2 separate regions of the Homo sapiens genome follow, and region 1 is linked to region 2. The links are contacts of gene promoters, found by promoter capture Hi-C in blood cells and fetal thymus (Javierre and others, 2016). All regions are on one chromosome and are shown on one strand. The core of a region is centred on a gene start or on the middle of the fragment in contact, and the rest is flanking DNA. Distances in the headings are between cores, read along the strand shown. Region 1 overlaps FAS (Fas cell surface death receptor). Region 2 holds the start of IFIT1 (interferon induced protein with tetratricopeptide repeats 1).

The links. The method cuts DNA at HindIII sites, captures the fragments that hold promoters and counts their contacts. A CHiCAGO score of 5 or more calls a contact.
Region 1: a contact is called between a fragment that was not itself captured here and the fragment with the promoter of IFIT1 in region 2, in 1 of 17 cell types (M2 macrophages). The highest score is 5.0, in M2 macrophages.

What each region holds. Positions count from the first base shown.
Region 1 is chr10:89,016,506-89,023,517 of GRCh38, forward strand. FAS (Fas cell surface death receptor) reads left to right here. Exons shown (of 9, transcript NM_000043.6): 9 at 1-554. Among named protein-coding and RNA genes, the nearest start is that of FAS-AS1, 27 kb to the left of the region's middle. The HindIII fragment of the contact is 3,040 bases long and covers 856-3,895 here.
Region 2 is chr10:89,390,319-89,396,721 of GRCh38, forward strand. IFIT1 (interferon induced protein with tetratricopeptide repeats 1) reads left to right here and starts at 2,305. Exons shown (of 2, transcript NM_001548.5): 1 at 2,305-2,399. The coding sequence starts at 2,395. It also overlaps a transcript of LIPA not described here. RefSeq lists a silencer at 1,140-1,301 and enhancers at 1,854-1,903, 2,134-2,183, 2,985-3,034. The HindIII fragment of the contact is 1,915 bases long and covers 705-2,619 here.

The sequences.
Region 1 (7,012 bases), core at 1,126-3,625, 370 kb before region 2:
GAGCAAGAACTTTGAGTTCCTTTGGGAGGAAGACAGTGGAGAAGTCTTTGTACTTGGTGATGTGGTTTTTTTCCTCATGGCTTCACCTAGTGGCCCCAAGCATGACTTCTCCCATGTCAATGAGCACAGCCACATTCCCGAGTTGAGGTGACCCCACGGTCCAGAATCATCCTCATTCTGGTGAACCTGGTTCTCTTTGTGGTGGGCATACTGGGTAGGAGAATCACCCAAAGGTCACCCATGAGCTGCAGAAAAAAAGGCTATTTGCAGAAGGAGCTCACAGATCACATTGAAAGCATTGCATATTCAAACATCTTGGTCTTCTTTATTGGCATGCCCACAGGGTCTTCTGACCTCTGATTAGATCAGACACTTTTTAGATATTGAATCATCAGTTTCTGTACAACTATCTGAATAAGGTATATAATCAATGAAATTTAGAATTTTTTTCTATGCTTACTCCTGATTGGTAATTTGTTTGGGTTTAGAATTCTATACAAGGCCATTTGTAATTTTCCTCAGCACTTTAAAAATATTAAACCATGTTTTCTTAACATCTGTTGCTGTTGATTATGTCTGCTCTTGGTGTAAATATCATTCCTTTGTAGGTAATCTGTAATTTTTTTTCCTCTGGTAATTTTTAAAGCTTCCCCTACTACTTTCCTATGTGTTCTGCAGTTTCACAACAATGACTTTCAATGTGTATTTATTTTTACTTAATCTATTTAATAAGATTTAATTAGAAAGGCAGGGCTTTCATCATTTCTGGAAAAAATCCCAGCTATTTTCTCTTTAAATAGTGTTTCTTTACCATTCTCATTCTCTTCTTCTGAAACTGTTGTTATTATTTGTTGAAGCTTCTTGAGTTATTTTCTAGGTCTCTTAATTTTTTTTAAAACAATAATTGTCTCCGTATGTTGCATTTTAGGAAATTTCTCATTACTCTTTTTAAATTAACTGTTAGTTTTTACTAAGCCCGGCTAGAATAGTCTATCCACTGAGGTATGTATTTTGTTTTCTATATTTTTCATTCTTAATGTTTCTTATTGTTCCTTTTACATTTTTACTTGTATATGTTTCATTCCTGCTTTTTTTAATTTTCTTTCTTCTTTCCCTTTTCTCTCTTTTTTTTTTTCTTCTTGCAGTGCAGACAGACTTTATTAGTACAGCAGAGGTGCCCACAGAGCAGGCAGAAGGGATCAGTGCCTGGATCTGTCCCTTCCTCCTTCTGCCCTCGCTGAGCCCTAGTGTGTCCGGAATTGGTGGGTTCTTGGTCTCACTGACTTCAAGAATGAAGCCGCGGACCCTCACGGTGAGTGTTACAGTTCTTAAAGGCAGCGTGTCCGGAGTTCATTCCTTCTGATGTTCGGATGTGTTCAGAGTTTCTTCCTTCTGGTGGGTTTGTGGTCTCGCTGGCTCAGGAGTGAAGCTACAGACCTTCGCGGTGAGCATTACAGCTCTTAAGGCGGCCCGTCTGGAGTTGTTCGTTCCTCCCGGTGGGTTCATGGTCTCGCTGGCTTCAGGAGTTAAGCTGCAAACTTTCGCAGTGAGTGTTACAGCTCATGAAGGCAGTGTAGACCTAAAGAGTGAGCAGCAGCAAAATTTATTGAAAAGAGTGAAAGAACAAAACTTCCACCCTATGGAAGGGGACCCGGGCCAGTTGCCACTGCTGGCTCTGGCAGCCTGCTTTTATTTTGTTATCTGGCCCCACCCACATCCTGCTGATTGGTCCATTTTACAGAGAGCCGATTGGTCCATTTTACAGAGAGCTGATTGGTGCGTTTTGACAGGGTGCTGACTGGTGCGTTTACAATCCCTGAGCTAGACACAAAAGTTCTCAACGTCCCCACTAGATCAGCTAGATACAGAGTATCAACACAAAGGTTCTCCAAGTCACCACCAGAGTAGCTAGATACAGAGTGTCGATTGGTGCATTCACAAACCCTGAGCTAGACACAGGGTGATGATTGGTGTGTTTACAAACCTTGAGCTAGATACAGAGTGCCGATTGGTGTATTTACAATCCCTTAGCTAGACATAAAGGTTCCCTAAGTCCCTACCAGACTCAGAAGCCCAGCTGGCTTCACCCCGTGGATCCTGCACCGGGGCTGCAGGTGGAGCTGCCTGCCAGTCCCGCGCCATGCTCCCGCACTCCTCAGCCCTTGGATGGTCAATGCGACTGGGAGCCTTAGAGCAGGGGGCGGTGATCGTTGGGGAGGCTTGGGCATGGTGGGCTGCAGGTCCCGAGCCCTGCCCCATGGGGAGGCAGCTAAGGCCTGGTGAGAAGTCAAGCACAGCAGCTGCTGGCCCAGGTGCTAAGCCCCTCACTGCCCCAGGGCCGGCGGGGCTGGCTGGCCGCTCCCAGTGCAGGGTCTGCTGAGCCCACGCCCACCTGGAACTCATGCTGGCCCACAAGCACCATGTGCAGCCCCGGTTCCCGCCCATGCCTCTCCCTCCACACCTCCCTGCAAGCTGAGGGAGCCGGCTCCGACCTTCGCCAGCCCAGAAAGGGGCTCCCACAGTGCAGCAGCGGGCTGAAGGGCTCCTCAAGCACAGCCAGAGTGGGCGCCAAGGCTGAGGAGGTGCTGAGAGCGAGCAAGGGCTGTGAGGGCTGCCAGCACACTGTCACCTCTCACTAGGAGGCTGGGGCCTGGCCTGGACCAGTTTCTCTTGTTCCACCTGAAACACATGAGAATGGAGAGCTCAGGGCTGGCCTTGCTTCTGGCTCCTATTGTCATAACTCTAATGTTATCACTTCATTGAAAAGATTAGACCTCTCCTTCCCCAGTCCCTAGGCAGGGAACCCCAGCCACTGGGGAGAGACAACTTTGTGGGGCCTGGGCTTAGGTATATCCTCTAGACACTTCCGACCCCACCCCACACCCTTTAGTTCTCTGAGGCTCAACGCACTTTCTTTATTTCATTGACAATTTATCATAGTTTAATATAACTTATTCCATTATTTACCTTCTTGAAGATCCTACTGAGTTATTTTAGAGTCTTTTTTAGAGTTGCTCTATTATTTTAATTTTAACTGCAGTGATTTCATGCTGACCTTGTAGGCTGGCTTTCCTCATGTGATTTTCCTTATGAATTTTTGAAATTTGTAGGCTTATCTTGAATAGCCCATTTTTTTCTCTCTGCACTCATCTCTCCATATTTAATAGTTCTGTGTGTTCTTTTGCCAGTTCTTCCAGAGTCCCCAGTTCTGAGCCAAGATTTACTGAGATAATCTTGAGGCTCATACATCATGGTGATATCAGGACTATCACAGATTCAGTCATGCATTTGGGGGCAGCTTGGCTCAGCCACTGGTCATAGGCTGTGCCGAATCTTCTCAGACCCTTAGGCCTGTAGCTTCCTAGAAGCCACAGTCCCAGGGAGTGTTTGGCAGTAGGTCTGTCTTAGTAGCTCTGTCTTAGCTGTCTTCCACAAGACAGAAAGTTCAGAGAGAGAAGAAGGAAAAGAAACTGGTTAGGCAGACAGTTAGGAGGGGTCCTTGGTAAAACTCCTTCAAACAGAGAAATAGCCTGAAAAAATCAAAGCTACAGGCACAGATAGAGCAGCCTGGGGAAAAATTTAGCTTTAGCTGCAGAGATAAGGGAGCAAGGCCTAACAAAGAAGCCTTTGTTCTTTGGATAATCAGCGGGCTCCCAGGAAAAAGTTTCCTCCCCTTTTCAGACATGTACATGATGGGCTCCATGGGAACTTGCACAGGGAGAGGGGCTTACCTAAAACATACCCACAGTTTCATAAACAAGAGAAGCTGTACTTTGTGCTTACCTAAGACATACCTGCAGCTGCACAGGTAAGGAGAGTTACACAGACAGCTACTACACAGTTAAGGGAAGTTACACAAACAGCTACAGAGATGAAAGGAGTTTTTTCTTATAAAAGCTTTTGGATTCAACTGTAAAAGTGGCAACCCTCTTTCAGCCTCCTCTTTGCTGCGGAGAGCTTTCTTCTTTCAATTATTAAACTTTTACTCCAACCTCACCCTTGTGTCCAGGCTCCTTAATTTTCTTGGTCATGAGACAAAGAACTCCAGGTACTACCTCAGACAACAAGACTGAAACATTGTGGTGCACTGGCAAGACTGCAACAGTTCTACATCAGCCCGTGGTTTTAAGAAGGGAGCCTGGTTCCTGTTCTGCCTCAGGTGGGGCACATTTATTCCGTACCAAACCTAAAAGCAGGCTTTGCTTTGCTTCCAAGCATTGATCCAACTAAGCTTTGGCTTGTTGTGCACAAGTCATCATCTTGTAGTTGTTTCCATTCTTATACCATGAAAGGATTGATCTTATTTTTGAGCTTGGCTATGCCTTTTTATTTTCCTTTAGAGACGTTCTATGTATCATTGCTATTTGCTCAGATTGGTAGGAGGTGGCCCTCAAGAAATGAACTTACAATTTGGTATTAACCCCAGGGCCCATTAGATAACTAGAAACAATGTTTTGTTTTGTTTTACATTTTTAAGTTAAAACTAAGGATCAAGTTGTTTTTCAGTTATATAGGGCCCTTTGACAGGACTTGATATGGTTTGGATCTGTGTCCCCACCCAAATCCCATGTCGAATTGTAATCCCTAATGTTGGAGGTAGGGCCTGATTGGAGGTGATTGGATCATGGGGGCGGAGTTCTCATTAATGGTTTAGCACCAATCCCTTGGTGCTGTTCTTGTGATAGTGAGTGAGTAATTGTGAGATCTGGTTGTTTTAGAAGTGTGTAGCAAAGGCCGGGCACAGTGACTCACACCTGTAATGCCAGCACTTTAGGAGGCTAGGGCGGGCAGATCACCTGAGATCAGGAGCTTGAGACCAGCCTGGCCAACATGGTGAAACCCCGTCTCTACTAAAGATACAAAAAATTAGCTGGGCGTGGTGGCACACGTCTGTAGTCCCAGCTACTATGGAGGCTGAAGCAGGGAGAATCACTTGAACCCAGGAGGTGGAGGTTGCATTGAGCTGAGATCGTGCCATTGCACTCCAGCCTGGGCAACAGAGCGAGACTCCATCCCAAAAAGAAAAAGAGAAGTGTGTACCACCTCCCCTGACCCTTGCTCCTTCCCTGGTCATGTAAGACATGCATGCTTTCCCTTCACCTCCCACCATGTTTGTAAGTTTCCTGAGGCCTTCCCAGAAGCAGAAGAAGCTACATTTCCTGTACAGCTTCCAGAACCATGAGCCAATTAAACATCTTTTATTTATAAATTACCCAGTCTCGGCTGGGTGCGGTGACTCATGCCTGTAATTCCAGCACTTTGGGAGGCCAACGCAGGCAGATCACAAGGTCAGGTGTATGAGACCAGCCTGGCCAACATAGTGAAACCCCATCTCTACTAAAAATACAAAAAATTAGCCGGGTGTGGTGGCGGGCACCTGTAATCACAGCTATTCGAGAGGCTGAGGCAGGAGAACTGCTTGAACCCAGGAGGCAGAGGTTAAAGTGATCCAAGATTGTGCCATTACACTCCAGCCTGGGTGACAGAGCGAGACTCCATCTCAAAAAACAAACAAACAAAAAATTACCCAGTCTCAGTTATTTATACCAATGCAAGAACAGACAAATACAGGACTCAGGAGAAAAGAAAAGAGACTGTAGGGTTTCCCACATAGGTCTGCATCTTATGATAGTGGTGAATTGAGAGTCATACAGATCTGGGATCAAATATTTATTTTCCTCATAAAGGTAGAAACAAATGGCTTAATCTCTTCGAGTCTTAATTTCCTTATTTTTTGTGAAGATTAAAGTGTATATGAAGTATCTACCAGTGTTTAGCTCTGTACCTTGATAGATGGTAACAACAACAATAAAAAACCTCAGATGCTTAAGCAAAATGGAAATTTATTGACATATGTTACTAGATGCTCAGATATGGGGTGGGTTTGACTAACCTAAACCAGTGCCTCCAGTCAAGATTCCTTGTTATTTTCTTGAATCTACCCTCTTCATTTATCTACTTCTTGTCCATCTCTTCATATATTTGCTTGCCAAACTGGTAGTGACAAGGTGCCTGCAACCATTCTCGACCTATCTAAATATCACAGTCCAGAAGAAATGACACTTATGCCCCCCGTCCTCCAAGCACCTCCCCTGACCCTTGCTCCTGCTGCTCCTTGCTGCTGAGAGCCATTCTTATTCAACTGTTTAGATCATAAGCGACCTCTGAATTAATGACTTATGATTGGAGAATTGGATATGTCGATTGGCTTAATCCACAGGCCCCATTCTTGGAGCCTGGCATAGGATCAGCTTCCCCTGAGTGTCAAAAGATTGGGAGTGGGGAGGCAGGAGGACTTCTGTTAAGAGGATGATAGAGGGTTCTGGGTAGGAGTGTCAGGATGTGTTTAGGTACTCAAGCTGACTTAAACTGTAGAAAAAAATGTATTACCTCATATGACAGGCAGTCCAAAGGTGTGGCTCACTGAAGCCTACTTGTACCAGCTCACAAGAGCTAATTACTAAATTCTTAGGAATTTTGAAAGCCAGTTGTTAAATCGTTGATAGCTTGATATTGTCATACTGGGAGTATTTACACTATAGAAATTGTCAAAGGCTACAGATCAGGAATCTCCCCCGACCCCCACAAAGACAGTTACTGGCTACTGGGCAGAAGTCAGTGTTGGTGGCTGATTCAGTGTCTCAATGATACTATCAGGGTCACAGGATTCTTTTCTAGTTTTCCAATCTGTAGCTTCAACATTGGCATTCAATTAGAGTTATTTGTTTTTGCATGGTCATCCAATGGCTTTATCAGTGAATCAACAGCATGATTCTTTATCCGTATTCAATAGCAAAGAAAAAGAGAGAAAAACATGAAAAAATTCTCCCCTCAGATATGGATCATATACCTGGCCTTTTAGTATGATTGAGCCAAATTTAGTCGTCTGCCTACCTGTGTGGTCTGCCATATACTGATTGACTCAGGCAACTCAGGAGCCACCTCTGGAGCTGTGGACAGGATCAGTTTCTCCTAAGCTTTATGAGTTATGGGAAAAAGTAGATCAGAATGG
Region 2 (6,403 bases), core at 1,055-3,554:
TGTACCTAAGTATATGTTCAATTGTTCTGGAATGGGCATAGTTAGCATTATTTTTGAGATTTACCTGGCTGATTCTAATGTGCAGTGAGGGTTGAGATCTGCCAACCTATTCCAAATGACTTCTCAGCTGAGGAAATTGAGATTCATAGAGGTGAAGCAGTTTATCATAACTGGTCAGTCCCTTGCAGAGCCCAGCTTAGACTCCTGGGAATGAACTCACAACCTAGTGCTGAAATTTCATTTTCTAAATGTTTGATCCTCTCTGGTTCCCATTTTCTTTTTTATCTGTAAACACACACACACACGCGCGCGATTGGCTTTTCTTTCCTTAATGCTGTTCTATCCTGTGTCCCTCATGGGTTTGTTTAGCCCAAAGAGACACTAAGCAAGATTCTGAATACCTAATCAGCCTGGGCCATAGCCCCGTAGAACCAAGACTGCTGCCAAATTCACAGCAATGGCAAGATAAACTTTTTGTTCATATCTCTGCATGCTATCTAGTGCATTGGCAAATTGAAAACCCATTTTTTCCCATAAGAATTCCAAAGACATCTTGCTCCCCAAAAGATGTTTTCTAATTCATCTGTTTCAGCATTTGCTTATGGCCTGATCATGTATCTGAGTGCAAGACAAAACCTGTCCTATTAATTCAGAAATTCTTATTTGTGTAGAACTTTCTAACTAGTTGTTGAACTCTCTGTGGAAGCTTACAGAATTGGTGAGAGCTGACATGGGAGATGAGTCTGGCAGGGAGTTGAGCAGAAACTGTTTAGATCTGGCAGTGTGCCCAGTTAAGTGTTTCCAAAAGGAAAATACTCTTGCACCTGCTCCTCTTCTGCTTCTTATGTTAAAAGACAAAGTAGGTAGGTTTTTTTAAAGGAAACATTGTTTTTATATATTGTTATGATTATTTGAGACAGGGGCTCACTCTGTTGCCCAGGCTGGAGTGCAGTGGTGTGACCATGGCTCACTGCAGCCTCTACCTCCTGGGCTCAAGTGAGCCTCCCACCTCAGCCTCCTGAGTAGCTGAGACCACAGACACACACCACCACACCCAGCTTTTTTTTTCAGTTTTTTTGTAGAGTTGGGGTCTCCCTATGTTGTCCAGGCTGGTCTACAATTCCTGGGCTCAAGTGATCCTCCCGCCTTGCCTTCCAAAATACTGGGACTTACAGGCCTGAGCCAATGCACCCGGACAACAATTTTTTATTTTTTATTTATTTATTTTTTTAGACGGAGTCTCGCTCTGTCACCAGACTGGAGTACAGTGGTGTGATCTCGGCTCACTGCAACCTCTGCCTCCCAGGTTCAAGCAATTCCCCTGCCTCAGCCTCTCGAGTAGGTGGGACTACAGGTGCACACCACCACACCCAGCTAATTTTTTGTATTTTAGTAGAGAGGGGGTTTCACCATGTTGGCCACGATGGTCTCCATCTCCTGACCTTGTCATCCGCCCACCTTGGCCTCCCAAAGTGCTGGGACTACAGGCATGAGCCACCGCACCCAGCCAAGAATCATTATTTTTAACTTGATGACTGAAAATAATAATAATAATAGTTACCACTTATTTGCATGCTTCTATGTGCCAGGTAGTTGCTAACTATTTAAACTCAAATTCCATGAACTGTAGTGGAGGTTGTACTGGAATTTGATTCAGAATGACAGTGTCCATGATGGAGCAATAGAGGGCTCTCTATTTCAAACCATACCTCCTTGCTTTTACCTCCTGCCTAAGTCATCAGGGGTTAGAAGGCTTTCTAGGTATTGGTCTCTTTCCTTCATTCCTAAACCAGATTGGTTGCTTATTTCCGTCAAGCTGAAACCAAAAGTAAGCAACCAAAAAGCAACCAGCAACCAAAAGCCTTGTTACTCAATTAATTAAGAGTAGATTTTTATATTTGATAGTAGGTTCCTTCTAAATATAGAAACTGAAAATAGAGCTATCTCCTTCAATTCTCCTTTTTCTGTGTATTCATCCAGAATCCAGCCACCAACTGCCACAATAGGCAGCAATGGACTGATGTTCTTTAGGGAGGACGTGAATCTCGTTCCAAATGCTGGCCAGTCATTGGGTTTCTGCAGCACTAGAAACATCTATGGTTGCAGGTCTGCAGTTTATCTGTTTTAAAATAGAAACAAAGTTTCATTCCCCACCCCCCCCCGTCAGCAGGAATTCCGCTAGCTTTAGTTTCACTTTCCCCTTTCGGTTTCCCTAGGTTTCCAACTTGCAAGGACACACCCACAGCTTACACCATTGGCTGCTGTTTAGCTCCCTTATATAACACTGTCTTGGGGTTTAAACGTAACTGAAAATCCACAAGACAGAATAGCCAGATCTCAGAGGAGCCTGGCTAAGCAAAACCCTGCAGAACGGCTGCCTAATTTACAGCAACCATGAGGTAAGGATTTCTTTGCTCCTCTGCCATAATGTCTAAAGTTTTTGAAAAAATGGTAATTAAATACTATTTCAACAGGTTAGATCTCAGTGAGGTCAGGTTTTCTAATTCCTCGATTTGAGTATCTGCTTATGGACTGAATGTGTGCATGCATGTGTGTGCACGTTCACACATACATAAATTGTTTAATGCATTTTTATGTTTGTTAGCATGAACTTGAGGAAGCTTACCTCATGCTATAGCCCAAAGAAGGGGAGGGAAATGGGAAAAGAGTTTTGCAGGAAGGGAGAAAATGATCCCAATCTGAGAGATTCTTTCCCATCAGATTCACTTCTGTCTGATATGGGGAAGGAATGGACAGCTTGTCTGAGTAGAGGCATTGCTTTCTGCAGGTTCTTTACCACAGAGAAAAAGCAGGACCCACAAGAATGTGAAAGCCTCAGTCTTGCAGCCTCTCTGATGTCTTGTGGGTAATACAGTGGAGATGTGGTAGGAAAAGCTCACAGCCTTCCTCCATAGGCTTCTGGTCTCACTTTCTGCACTGCTGGCCTCTTACAACAGGTTTTCGCAATCAGGCTGAGCTTAAGATAAACAGATTGCCTCCTCCCTGGAAAATCTAGGCTCTTGGTACGTCCTTGACTGAAGATGATCCACATCTGCTTGGGAAGATCCGTATCTTCCTTACCTAAAGGGCCTAATGTGGGAATTTCTCAGCTGATTTAAAAACCATTACTTAGGCCGGGCAAGGGGGCTCATGCTTGTAATCCCAGCACTTTGGGAGGCCAAGGTGAGCAGATCGCCTGAGGTCAGGAGTTGGAGCCCATCCTGGCCAACATGGTGAAACCCCATCTCTACTAAAAATACAAAAATTTGGGCATGGTGGCACATGCCTGTAGTCCCAGCTACTTGGGAGGCTGAGGCAGGAGAATCACTTGAACCTGGGAGGCGTAAGTTGCAGTGAGCTGAGATTGTACCACTGCACTCCAGCCTGGGCAACAGAGCGAGACTCCGTCTCAAAAACAAACAAACAAACAAAAAATCCATTACTTAATACTGATTTGTAAATTTTCCCCTCAGTGCTCCAGTTGGCAAAATTTTGAAGAGGTAAAAATTCCAGAAAATGCACATTACAGGCCTATGATGAACCCTCCTCTGTAAACAGATGGAGTTGGTACTGATAATTAAAATAATAATAATATTAAATGTTATAAAGGTAGTTATCACTTCTTGAATTCGTATTAAGTGACAGCCTGGCTTCTAAAAGTGTTATGTAAATTATTCCATTTAATTCTCAAAAGATACTTATAAGGCAGGTACTTACACAGTCATGCATCGTGTAACAATGGGGATACACTCTGAGAAATGCAGCTGTTAGGCAATTTCATCATTATGCAAACATCAAACCTAGACGGTATAGCCTACTACACACCTAGGCTATAAACCTGTGCAGCATGTTACTGTACTGAATACTGTAGGCAACTGCAATACAATGGCAAGTATTTGTTTATCTAAACATATTTAAACATAGAGTACAGCAAAATTGTGGCATTAAAATCTTATAGGACCACCACCAAATATGTGGTCCTTTGTGGACTAAAATATCATTATGCAGTGCATGGCTGTATGATCCTGATTTTACAATAAGGAATCTTAGATTTAGAAATGTTAAGATCACACAGACAATAAGTGGTAGCTTTGAGATATGGATCAGGATCTCTACATTCAATGATATTTCATTAAACCTTTAAATCAATGTTTCCCAAAGGGTGTCAGTGGGGGCTCATGTGATTATTTCAGATGGCAAACTCATTTGCTTTTATGTTTTCCTGCTTTTATGTTTATGTCAATATGTACTACAGGAAAATATATATATATATATATATATATATATATATATATATATATATATATATAAAACTTGAATTTTATTCAGGTTAGCAATGTGATTTTTTATTGTGATAAAATACATGTAAAATAAAATTTATCATTTTAATTACTTTAAAGTATACAATTTAGTAGTATTTAGTATATTCATGATACTACTGTGCAATCATCATCACTATCTAGTTCAAGAACATTTTTCTCGCTATGTGGAGAAACTGCATAGCCATTAAGCAGTCACTCCCTACTTGCCTCTTTCCCCAGGCCCCAGCAACTGTTAATCTGCTTTCTGTCTCTATGGATTTGCCTATTGTGGGTATTTCATATAAATGGAAACACATACTATGTGGTTATATTGAATTTTTATAATTTTATATTTCCTAAGCATCCCTTTTTGAATATTAAGTTGGACTTTCTCATTCCAGAAGCAGGGCTCAGTCACCCTTGAGACAATTTCTAGTTCTCCACCTTTTTCCAGTTCCTCAATGTGATTGATCCAGATATCTGCTTTATATAACTACCTCCTGGTGACCACTTCCCTATAGCATAGCAGGGTATGACCTATTTGACTTGCCCCCACTGACCCCACCCCCACCCCACATGGACCAGGCAGATGTGCTGCAGTGACCACCTCTCAGTCACAGCATGACCCCTTGGCAAAATTGCACCTGCTTGCTCTAAACCCACCAAATAGAACTCTCCACAGGAAACCCACCTAGGTAACGCCCTGGCCTCCCATAAAGGCTTGGGCCCACATTCCCCACTCGCTGGTTGAGCAGGCATGTCCTCAATGGCTCCCCCTTTCCCATTGGCCCTGCAAGGCATATTACCCTCTTCTCTCTGGATCTGTAAGTAATAAGCTGCTTCTGTTATTTCACATACTATTTTTTTCAATTGCCTCCTTTGTATTTCACCTGACCAACACACTCAAACTCTTCTTTACTGGTCATGGCTTTCCGAGAGAGTGGCTGTCTCAGTAGAAATAAACTAAACACAGGTCAGGCAAGAACCACAAGGGCATCTGCCTGATATAAACAAGTTTCCTATAAAAGGGGACACCTAGACATAGATCAGACGCTTAGGCATTAGGCTGTTCATCAAAATAAAGAAGTATCCCAAGAAAGGCACATTGTAAATATCCATGACCAAATACCCTGAAGCTCTTTCAAGGCAGGGCTGTAGATTGTAGCCACTCTCACAGGAGAGACCTCAAGACAAAATTAGGAAAAAAAAAAATACAACAGTGACCTTTTGGATCAGTTTTTTTCATTTAGTGTAGTGTTGTCAAGGTTTATCCATGTTGTGTCATGTATCAGTACTTCATTCCTTTTTATGGCTACATAATATTCCACTTTATGGATATATTACATTTTTTTATCTATCAGTTGGTGAACATTTGGGTTGTTTCCATTTTTTGGCCATTATGAATAGTGCTGCTATCAACATCTGTGTGCAAGTTTTTATTTGAACACCTGTTTTTAAGTATCTTAAGTATATATCCAGATGTGGAACATCCAGGAATGTATACCCAGGAATGTGTCATATGGTAATATTATGTTTAACTTATTGAGGAACCACCACATTGTTTTCCACAGCAGCTGCATCATTTTACATTCCCACCAGCAATGTATGAGGGTTTCAATTTCTCCACATCCTTATTGCCTTAGTCCTTTTTGTGTTGCTATAGAAGAATAAGCAACAATTTCTAAGGCTGGGCAATTTCTAAAGAAAAAAGGTTTATTTAGCTCACAGTTCCGCAGCCCATACAAGAAGTATGGTGCTGGCATCTTCTCAGCTTCTGGTGAGGGCTTTGGTGCTGTGTCAAAACACACTGGAGAAGGTCAAAGGGGAAGCACATACAAAGAGGGTCTAAACCCAGGGGGCATCCTCACATTATAACAACCCATTCTCAAAGGATTAATCCATTCCCCCAAGAACCAATCCAGTCTCACAAGAATGAGAATTCACTCACTACTACTAGAATGGCACCAGGTCATTCACGAGAGACCTACCTCTATGATCCAAACACATCCCACTAGACCCTACCTCCAAAATTGTGACACTAGAGATCAAATTTCCGTAGATTTGGTGGGGACAATCAAACTGTATCCAAACCATAGCACTTG